Regions from separate parts of the Homo sapiens genome. Here regions 2 and 3 are each linked to region 1. The links are contacts of gene promoters, found by promoter capture Hi-C in blood cells and fetal thymus (Javierre and others, 2016). All regions are on one chromosome and are shown on one strand. Each heading gives the region's core, a stretch centred on a gene start or on the middle of the fragment in contact. The rest is flanking DNA. Distances are from core to core; before and after follow the strand shown. Region 1 holds the start of IDNK (IDNK gluconokinase). Region 2 has its middle 100 kb from the start of SLC28A3-AS1. Region 3 has its middle 140 kb from the start of SLC28A3-AS1.

Region 1 (3,679 bases), core at 500-2,999:
TAAAGGCTCCCTCTCATCAGCCCCTTTCTATTTAAGAGTGAAAACACTTCTCGGTTACTCAGATGTGGACTCTGCCCCTAGTTGCTTTTTCTGACCCTACCCACACCTGTGCTAATAGTCCCTTTGTTAAATCCTGTTCACCTGCCCCAATTTGAGCATGCTGTTTCCTGCCACCACCCTGAGCAGCACAGCAAGTTTAAGATCCTTGGACATGTCTGGGGAAAGAAATCCAAGGAGAAGAATCAGATTTTCTGCTAATCATTCTGATTTGAACATTGAAAGAAATATGAGCTTTTTTTTTTCATACTGAGCTAGCGAAGCAGGGCACGAGTTAAGAGTATTTGCATACACATCTATTCCTCTTATCAAGCTTGAGAATGCCTAGAGGGTAATCTTTTAAATGAATATTAATATGATATTAACCAGCACATGGTAGATGTTCAAGAAATGTGTATTGACCATAACTGAATTGTAAGACCTCTCTCCAAGCCTCAATTTCTTCACCTGTACAGCCCCCATCCAGATTGAAATCTCACCTACTCGGGCTAAGTATATGAAAAACAAAGGCAGTGCAGGGGTAATTGAACTATTCATTAGATAAATGCTTTTATGTCACTTTTATTGTTTTCTAGGACACAGAGTAATACCTACCTTGGTTAACAAAAGACCAAAGGAGGTGATGCCAAATGCGGTTAGAAGTGCTTTTAATCACTTTGGGAGGCCGAGGCGGGTGGATCATGAGGTCAGGAGATCGAGACCATCCTGGCTAACAAGGTGAAACCCCGTCTCTACTAAAAATACAAAAAAAATTAGCCGGGCGCGGTGGCGGGCGCCTGTAGTCCCAGCTACTCGGGAGGCTGAGGCAGGAGAATGGCGTGAACCCGGGAAGCGGAGCTTGCAGTGAGCCGAGATTGCGCCACTGCAGTCCGCAGTCCCACCTGGGCGACAGAGCGAGACTCCGTCTCAAAAAAAAAAAGAAGTGCTTTTAATCAAATAGTTCAAACGACACATAATTAACATTGTTTTAAAGCAAATGGACACTTTAAAGTGGTGCTCCTTCCTCTTAAAGCCCCAACCAGTGCTGGATTTAACAGCAGAGCCATACAGCCAAGACATATGCTGCTACGGTCAACACTCAACCCTAAGTTTGACACCAAAAGATGGCCGCCATTTATTATTGTGACAAAAGGCCAGATTACAAAACGCTGTGTACGGCCTGATCCCAGTTTTACAAAATACTCATACCCATCTATCTACGACGGGGCGCGGGGAAAGGGGAGTCGTTTTAGGAAGTGCTGCTTATTGCTGCCTGGTGTGGGAAATTATGAGTCTTATTTTCTGTTTATTCTTTTTACAAGAACATTTTTATAAATGAATGAATGAATGCTTTCCATGGGTGGATGAGGATCCGGCCTGCCAGGGTGAGGATCCTCTGGAACCAAGAGGGGCCGGGGCAGTAGAACGACAGGTGGCGGGGCTTTGGGCGGCTCCCTCCAGCCCAGGGAGACGCGAGTGCCAGGCCGGGCGCGCGCTTCACTTCCGGGAAGAGGAAAGAGGGAGGGGAGGGGAGAGGAAAAGAAGGGGCAGGAGAGAGAGGCCGGGAGGTTGGGAAAGGGAGGAGGAAAGCATGGAAAAGGGGCGCGGGAAAACGGGGAGGGCGCAGAGGGGCACGGCCCTCACTGCCCCGGCCGGGGCGAGAGCGGCTCCGCCCCTCGAGCGCCGGGTAGGCCGGGGCCGGCGGGGCCCGGAAGGCGACGGGAAGGAGCCGAGCTTGGGTTATGGCGGCGCCGGGCGCGCTGCTGGTGATGGGCGTGAGCGGCTCGGGGAAGTAGGTCCGGGAGAGGGCGGGGGGCGCCCGGGACAAGTGTTGCGGGCGCGGCGGAGGCCGGACGCGTCGCCGTCCCTGCCGGTGGACTGGGGTCTTGGGGACCCCCCACCCTTCCCTTTGCAGATGAAGAAACCGAGGCCCGCGGCTGCCGCGCCCTCTCCCCGCCCTCCAGCCTGCTCGCGGGGCGCCCATCCTGGGACCGCATCCGAGCTCCGGGTTCCCGCTCTAAGACGGGGAGGCTGCGGCGACCGCAGGCTCAGGGAGGAAGCCGCTCCTGAACAGGCGGCTGCGGGGCCGCGCAGGTGGAGGCCTAGCGAGCGGCGCGGGGCTAGGTTTCGGGGCGCCTTGTCGGGGCCAGGCGGGAGGGCGCACGGCCTCTAGCGAGAGGACGCAAACCACGGCCCAGGCTCTCACAGACCTTTGGCCATCTGGACACACAGCGGCCTCCTCCTATGAGGCCCTGGACTTCTCCGATTCAATTTTGGAAAGTGAATCGTTTTCCCCTTCCTTTCATCAGCTTAACCTGGAAGGAGACAGCGTTAATATGGAGGGTGGCTCCTGAGGGTTTGGAAAGAAAGAAGAGAATTGTGGAAACCACAGAGGTAGCCCAGTGTGCTAACCTGGAGACTGAGGAGTTAACATTTGGCTTCCTGTTTAAACCAAAGTCTAACTGTGCCCTTTATCAGAAAAGACAGCTGCTGTACCATTCGACCACAGGCAGCAAAGGACAGAACTTGATCAGCTAAAACATCATAACCTTCAAGGGCCTATAGGACCCTTCTAGAATTTTCTGAATCAGGAACGGCCCATGTTGTGGCCTGTGTAGTCAGGTGTATATTAAAGATTTACTCCAGGTAGATGGGTTTTGCTTTCCAAAATTATTGTAGGGTTCTCAGCCACAAAGATAAAAAGAAATCTTGAACTGCAATTGAAATAAAACATGGAGCCCCCAAATCCCTAGCTGCCATATGATTTGAATCAGTTGGAGAATGTAAAATCATTGCCATGGTGTGATGTAACAGGAGTGAAGAGCCCTAGGTCTTGGTTCTGTTGCTGTCTGGCTGTGTGAGCCTGGGCAGTTCATGTACCCCCTCTGAGTCTTGAATCAGATGAGGGAGGCCTAATCCCTATGATGTATAGCTTGTGATATTCATGTACTCAGTAATTATTGAGCTCAATCCTTACTCTATGTCATTGTCATATAGCGAACAGGACAGATAAAATCCCTGCCCTCAAAGGATTTACATTCTGGTATGGGAGACAGAGTAAATGAATATATGTAGTGTGTGAGTTGGTGATAGATGCTCTGGAGTAAGGGGAACAAAGAGTGCCAGGCAGAGTGGTCAGGGATGTCTCCTCTGGGGGAGTGGCGTTTCAGCAAAGACCTGCAAGACTTGAGGAACCTGCCATGTGGATAGCTGAGGAAAGGGCAGGACAGGCAGAGGGAATGGCAGGTGCAATGGTTCTGAGGCTTAGCTTCTTTTGTTTTTTTTTTGTTTTGTTTTGTTTGAGGCGGAGCTTCACTCCTGTTGCCCAGGCTGGAGTGCAGTGGTGCAATCTTGGCTCAATGCAACCTCCTCCTCCCGGGTTCAAGCAATTCTCCTGCCTCAGGCTCCTAAGTAGCTGGGATTATAGGCGCCCACCACCATGCACAGCTAATTTTTTGTATTTTTAGTAGAGACGGGGTTTCATCATGTTGGCGAGGCTGGTCTCAAACTCCTGACCTCAGGTGATCCATGCGTCTCAGCCTCCCAAAGTGCAGGGATTACAGGCGTGAGCCACCGCGCCCAGCTAAGGCTTGGCTTCTTTAAGGAGCAGGAAGGAACCCATTGTGGCTGAGTGAGGGGAAGC
Region 2 (3,679 bases), core at 882-3,381, 550 kb after region 1:
TCTTGAATTAGTTTTTGGTGTTTGAGTTGAAATGGGCAAACTTTCTTGTGAAGACTTTTGCAGCACTTAATTCTCCTCTCTACCAAGTTCCTTGATGTCTTCCTCCTGTCCCACCTGCCTTCCACTTATAATTTCTGCCAATTTAAGAGAAGTATAAGCTCTTTCCCCCTTTTCTCTTCTTCTGTCAGAATCTGCTATATCTCTTACTCTCTATTTATTCCTCTATCCATTCATTTAATAAATGTTGACTGAGGACTGCTGTGTACCAGGCACAACATTAAATTCTGGGAATGCGGCAGTGAACAGAACAGCCTTGGCTTCTGCCCCTGTGGGATTTACGCTCTCAGTGGGGAAGGCAAATGTGATATAAATAATTACAAATATTAGCTAGAGCCTTTCGGCTTTATCTCATTTGTTAAGCTAATGACATCTAAACTGTTGGCTGCTAATGACTTAACATCTTATTCTTCCCAGATAACATTTCCCGCGAAAAGACTTTAGCACCTTACTTTGAGAAGAAAGGATGAAGTGGAGGGGGAGGAGTTTCAAAAGGAGATCTATTTGTGGAGGGGACGTTTTCTGACATTAAAAAATTATAATATGTAGCTAGATGCCTACTCCACCTGACCAAATTGTCCTCTTATGCTAAAAAACATTGGTTTCAGGTCCTTTGTATAGGATTGTCCAACATGCAGCATATATCCTAATGGTGGGATGCAAGATGTATTAGGTAGTTGAAGCAGATATGGTTAGTGCCCTAAGCAAACTACCTAGGCACTTGCAGTTCCTCGCTGTGCTGATGGCTTCTGTTTTTTGTTTGTTTGTTTTTTGAGACGGAGTCTCGCTCTGTCACCAGGCTGGAGTGCAGTGGCGCAATCTCGGCTCACTGCAATCTCCGCCTCCCGGGTTCAAGCGATCCTCCTACCTCAGCCTCTCGAGTAGCTGGGACTACAGGCGCCCGCCACCATGCCGAGCTAATTTTTTGTATTTTTAGTAGAGACGGGGTTTCACCATGTTGGTCAGGAAGGTCTTGATCTCTTGACCTCGTGATCCGCCCACCTCGGCCTCCCAAAGTGTTGGGATTACAGGCGTGAGCCACCGCGCCCGGCCCGGCCTGTGCTGACGGCTTCTTAACTGCAAATGTCTGTAACTCAGATTGCAGGAGCTGGCTTGCCCACCTTCACAGCGGGCCTGCAGTGGTAGGAGTTAATGGTCACATCCACGAGAGTAGCTTTCAAAGAATGACGAAGGGAAGATGGTGGGTAAAACTCTGAGGCTCATTCTCCAGCTTTCTTAGGGGGTCCGCAGGGATGCAACCCCAAAGACCGTAATGCTCCCTGGATTGACTTTCCTCTCTTCACACTTATTTCCCCGGCCCCCTAGTGGTGCTTCTTGGGAACACCTCTCAAATAGATGATTTGTACTCTAGTCCTAGTCTCAACCCAACCTAAAACAATGGCACATGGGCACATACTTTTATTTTAATGGCCATGTGTTTTAACATGTATTAGAAAAAATATAAATTGCACACCGTATCTGTGATTTCATGGATATTAGTGAAGCTTAAGTTTCAAAAGTGAGTCAATTTAAACCGAAGTGGAAAGTAATGGTATTCGGGTATTTGACAAATCACAAAGGGAGAGTGTGAATGGGGGATAATTGTATTAGAGCTTGAGGTTACCTGTAAACTGGAGCGCTTCCAGCTTTCTGGAATAAACTCAAGGACACTGGTCCTTAATTCAGTGTTCCTGAAAAGACTCCCAGGGGCTCACCAGCCCTTGAGAGATTATGCAAAGTTTTATGTATTTGGATCCTCTTCCTCCCAAAAGTTCATTTGCCTTAGTCTTAGAAAGGCATATTTCACTCAAAGTCAAGAGAGAGAGAGAGAGAGGAAAAAAAAAAGGAAGGAAGAGAGGGAGAGGGGGAGGACAGGCAGACACTCTGTTTTTCTATTTTATTAATGTAATTCAGATCTCTGTTTCTGTTGCAAAAAAGCAAAAAATAAAACAAAGGAGAGGAATGAGGAGATGGAGCCCTGATCCAAATAACAACAACAACAAAAAAAGTGTCTGTAGAATTGGGTTACTGGATGACTTCGGGGAGATGAGCTATCCATCACCACCCGCATCCTCAATAAAAAAACCTGGAAATATCTTCTGAGGATTTTTGCTTGTTAGGAAGGATGGCTATAGCCCAAGAGCAGCATCTGTATACAATGAGTGAAAAAATATTTGGTAACAAAGATCCATTAAACACCCAAATCTACCAAGTATCAGATGGCAAGATAAATGAGATTTTTGTACATGCAAAGCAAATTTTATATAAACAATAACCAAGGCAGTTCCTGTTGCTTCATAAAGCAGGACTTCTGTTAATAGCAGAAACAGCAAATACAGAAAACCAAGCCAATGCATTTTAATGCCTGATTTTGATGCATTAAAAAAATCAAGAAATTCAACAATTCACAGCCAATTGTATATTCATGCCACCCAGACTGAATTAGGATTAGAATCAGCTGTGAGCAACAGAAAATCCAAAATAATGAGTGGTGGAACAAAGATGGAAATTTATTTTTTTCATGTGAAAGTCTGAGTAAATGGTCTAGGGGCTGGTGTGATTATTCATAATACCAGGGAACATTGAATGGCTTCTCCAGTTCAAGCCATCATGTCCCCATTCCAGCCAGCAGAAAGGAGGAAAAGAAGCTTCCCTATAAGGACACTTCTGTGATGTTGCATACACCACTTCCTCTTACATTTCTTTGCCTAGAACTTAATAACTTGACCACACCTATCTGCAAGAGAGGGTAAGAAATGCAGTTATTATTCTGGGAGTTCATATGCTCAGCTAAAAATTCTCTTGCTGTGGAAGAAGAGAATAGATATTGGGTAATACCAGCAGTCTCATCTACCCAGATTTCGTACATATTGGTAGTTCTAAGTAGTTAACTTTGGCATGATACTCAACTGTAAGTCTTATTTAATGTGTCAATGAAATTGCTTGACCCTAATCACCCAGTTTTTAAAGCTGCCTCTAATTAAATCTTTTCTGACATCCACAAATAAAGCATATTTTTCATTTTGAGTATCTGTCTACTTGATGCTGGACAAAATTCGGCCCACCTAGAATAGCAGGTATAGTTTGTGGGTTATCGAAACCCTTTGTTCTCTCTCCTTTTCTGTTCAACATACTTGTGGCCACTTTCCCATTAGTTAAAGTCTGAAATAGAGAAAGAAAGATTTAAAAAAGAAATAAAGTCTAATCAGATGTTTTGTTCCTTTTCAGCAACATTTCTCCAGGGCTAAAGTAGAAGAGATTAGAAATAAGTAACATTAAGTTTTGGGATTTATCTGTCATAAAAACAGTCCTTTAGGCCAGTTGATGAGCAAAGCCCTTTTCACTGCCATCTGTAATTGTGGCTGCAGCCCTGTGAAGAAGGCAGTGTCATCTCCACTTGAGCGAAGAGATGAAACTTACCAGACAAAGCAGTTATTAAAGGGCAAAGCCAGGATTTTCACTGGGGTCTCTCTGACCCCCAAAACTCTGCTCTTTTGACTGCTCCACCCACAGAGTCCCTCCTGCCATGAGTCTTTTAAGCATCATTATCTCCAGTGGAGAGAAAGTTTTTACATGAACATTGGCTGAGACTAAAAGCAGGCCTTGGAGACATAAACAAACT
Region 3 (3,679 bases), core at 764-3,263, 510 kb after region 1:
GATGGCCTATTGTGGGACTTCACCTTGTGATCGTGTGAGTCAATACTCCTTAATAAACTCCCCTTCATATATACATCTATCCTATTAGTTCTGTCCCTCTAGAGAACACTGACTAATACATTCCTACAAGCACTTTACTATCAAACAGGGGTCCTTCATCAGATTTCATTATGATCCTACCCATGTAGTCCTTCATTATTAACATTAATGTTTTACTGTCAATAAATACAGTTGTCAGTTATTAATTGCCTATAATGCCAAGCCTAGGGCTACAGGCTTTATGTCCTTTTTTTTTTTTTTGAGACACAGTCTCGCTCTGTCACCAGGCTGGATTGCAGTAGTGCGATCTTGGCTCACTGCAACCTCTGCCTCCCGGGTTCAAGCGATTCTCCTGCCTCAGCCTCCCGAGTAGCTGGGACTATAGGCACGCACCACCACACCCAACTAATTTTTTTGTATTTTTAGTAGAAATGGGGTTTAACCATGTTTGCCAGGATGGTCTTGATCTCTTGACCTCTTGATCTGCCCGCCTCGGCCTCCCAAAGTGCTGGGATTATAGGCGTGAGCCACGGCGCCCAGCCTTATGTGCATTTTTGATCTCATATAATTCTCACAACAGTCCTCTGAGTAAGGACAATTTTTATGGCCATTTTATAGACCTACTCAGAACGTAGTTCCCAGGTATGGCACCCAGGAATCTACTTTTGAAAGCTCCCAAATGATTCCAATGCATCTATCCATGGAACCATTGCATTGGTTGATATGGGAGAGGTGAAGATGAGATACAGATCTGTATCTAAGCACATCTCAAGATATGATACAGACATCCTGGCCACTTGGGGCTTAGAGCTCGTATGGCTATAAGTACACAAATGCCCAACAAGCATGTAAACTACTAGGATGTCAACTCTCAAAGTCCACCACTGGTGTCTGGGTGTTGTGCGGTTTGCATGGAGATGGAAGGCAGAAATGTCTGCTCTTTGGGTTGGAGAGAACTTTGGATATTAACTTCTTGGTTTGATATTTAAAACTTCTGTTGTGTCGATAGCCCCTCCAGAATAACTGTGGAAAAAGAAAAATATTTTAAAATATTCAAACCCAAATCGTCTTTGATTTAGACTTTTTCAGGTGGAGCAAAGCTTTCACATATCCTTGGGAGGAAAGAATTCAAAAACTGGATGTAAATAGAGCTGCGTTTATTGAGATAGGAGAGAGCGGATGCAGTGAATGAAATGTGTGTGCAGATAGTAATGAAGTATTTACCTATAGGAGTGTGCTGTTTGTATGTGCTCTTCCACAATTTACTTGGTACTTGAAAAATGTTGTCATGGCAACAGTATAACAAACAAGGTGGAATTGCGTACAGATGAATCACAACTTTATATGCCAGACAAAGAAGCGAATGTTCTATTAGGGCTGGGCTTATTAAGCTTAAAAGTTACAGCAAACATTTTCACGAGGTTTTCTTATTGTTTCTCATTTTAAAAAATGAGGGAGGTGCATAGACGGTAGAAGGTGTGGGATTATATTTACAGGATTTCCATAATATTACCATGGCAGAACACAGGTCGGCTGCATCAGCTTCACCTGCTGGTGTCCCAGCCTGTTTGACAGGATGGAGCTTGAGATGGTGTCTGTTCCAAGAACATATAGTTGAGGAGTTTACACACACGGGCACACGGGCACATACACACGGGTACACGTGTACACACACACACAGATGAACATGGCAAGAAGCTGTCATCTTATCTGGTGGAGAGAGCCAGGTATATAAAGCACTCCACCCAGGGGTGTGAGGCAGAGAGGGCTATGACCACACACGTGGTTCCAAGGACACTACGGTTGTACTTCCTGAAGGACAGGAACCCTTGAGGGAGCAAATTTGAGTGTCTTTTTTGATGCTTCGGGAATCTTTGAGTTCAATGAAGAGAGACACCATGGGTGGGCCACATAATCATGCAGACTCATTGGTTTGGGTTATGATTATATACAATTCTTTGCTCCAAAGTGGTCCATGTCCTGGAGCTGGAGGATGATTGTTTTGCGAGCACTTTTTGGATACAATCCCCTTCCTTGATACAGAGCTGCAAGCACTGATTGGCTGCTCTTGGCTATGAGTCTTACCTCACTGATTCTTGGACTTGAGACTGTATCTGTATCACCTGGAGAGGTTTGTTAAAACACATCTTTCTGGGACTCACTCCTAGAGTTTTAAAATTTGCATTTCTACCAAGAGTCTGGGTGAAGCTGTTGGTCTGTGGATGACACTTGGAGAGCTGCTGCTTTAGATGGAAACTCACCTGATAGAAAGGATGGGAATATTAGTCTTACAGTTTTCTTTCCCTTCCCACTAAGTGGCTAGGCAGAAATTCAGGGACCTCTCCAGTGGAGAAGGCTGGGACTTAATTGTTTGAAGTCAATTTGATAATAATAATAATAAAAAGAGATTAAGAAAATGACTGTCTTTCTTCAGATCCCAGGCAGTGCAGGAGGGACTGTTTTCTGGATTTTTCTGTGATTGAGAAATGTTAAGAATGGAGATGTAATAATGTGCTTCTCAGAGAATTAGTCCTCCACTAGCAACACTGGCATCACAGGAAGCTTATTCAAAATGCAAAATTTCGTACCCTACCCTCGATCTGAATCAGAATTACATTTAATAAGCTCCCCAGGTGATTCATACACATGTTAAAGTTGGAGAAGCACTGCTGTAAGAGACAGGCTGCCAATCTGGCAGTCAAGATACTTGAGTTTAGCCAGGTGTGGTGGTGCGTGCCTGTAGTCTCAGCTACTCGGGAGGCTCAGTTGGGAGGATTGCTTGAGCTTAGGAATTTGAGGCTGCAGTGAGCCCTGAGTGTACATGAGAATAGCCATTGCACTCCAGCCTGCCAGCATAGCCAGATCTATCTCTTTAAAAAAGAACATACCTGAGTTTTAGCCCAGGTCCTGCCTTTACCCAACTGTATAGCCCTTACTGGGCTTCGGGGGATGGGCTGGGGTGAGTTAGTGACCTACAAGTTTCTTGCTAGCTTTGGGGTGCTGCAATTCTGAATCATACCTTGGCAGGTCCTGACTTGCTCTGCCATTTCAGAAGGCTTCTGAAAAGTGTGGGCCCAAAGGTCTCTGAGGTCCTTGAGTTCCTTCCCTCTGCTGCCCCCACTTTACCCCACTGCAAGCTGGTGTGAACTCTTGCAGGAGGACAGCGCTATCTTGTGCCAAGGACATGACATCATTCCATGTACCTAAACTCAAAGGAGCCCAGTGTATAATCACTTACTATGGATGAAAGCTTGAGCAATCTGGGGAAAGTACATCCAGTCTAATAGCACTGTCTAATAACAAAGCCCTTGTCCTGAGTAGCCTTTAGGAAAGCAGCTGGGTCAGTCTCTGAGCCTTGACTACCCCCTTAGTAAGACACATAATTGCAATACTGTCATGCACCACATAACAACATTTTAGTCACTGATAGACTACATATATGATGTTCCCATAAGATTATAATATAGTCCCATAAGATTATAACACCATGTGTTTACTGTACCTTTTCTATGTTTAGATACACAAATACTTACCATTGTGTTACAGTTGCCTCCAGTATGCAGTACAGTCCCATGCTGTACAGATTTGTAGCCTAGGAGAAATAGGCTGTACCATCTAGCCTACGTGTGTAGTTGGCTAT

What was found. Contacts are between HindIII fragments. The CHiCAGO score rates a contact against its expected background, and 5 or more counts as called.
Region 2: a fragment that was not itself captured here is called in contact with the fragment with the promoter of IDNK in region 1 in 6 of 17 cell types (activated CD4 T cells, total CD8 T cells, total CD4 T cells and 3 more); the score reaches 11.3 in activated CD4 T cells.
Region 3: a fragment that was not itself captured here is called in contact with the fragment with the promoter of IDNK in region 1 in 1 of 17 cell types (total CD8 T cells); the score reaches 5.2 in total CD8 T cells.

What each region holds. Positions count from the first base shown.
Region 1 is chr9:83,621,394-83,625,072 of GRCh38, forward strand. It overlaps IDNK (IDNK gluconokinase), which reads left to right and starts at 1,750. Exons shown (of 5, transcript NM_001001551.4): 1 at 1,750-1,828. The coding sequence starts at 1,779. RefSeq lists a silencer at 1,445-1,974 and enhancers at 2,155-2,284, 2,305-2,354. The HindIII fragment of the contact is 10,566 bases long and covers 369-3,679 here.
Region 2 is chr9:84,171,904-84,175,582 of GRCh38, forward strand. No RefSeq gene overlaps it. Among named protein-coding and RNA genes, the nearest start is that of SLC28A3-AS1, 100 kb to the right of the region's middle. RefSeq lists an enhancer at 1,076-1,585. The HindIII fragment of the contact is 1,143 bases long and covers 1,561-2,703 here.
Region 3 is chr9:84,134,996-84,138,674 of GRCh38, forward strand. No RefSeq gene overlaps it. Among named protein-coding and RNA genes, the nearest start is that of SLC28A3-AS1, 140 kb to the right of the region's middle. The HindIII fragment of the contact is 1,171 bases long and covers 1,429-2,599 here.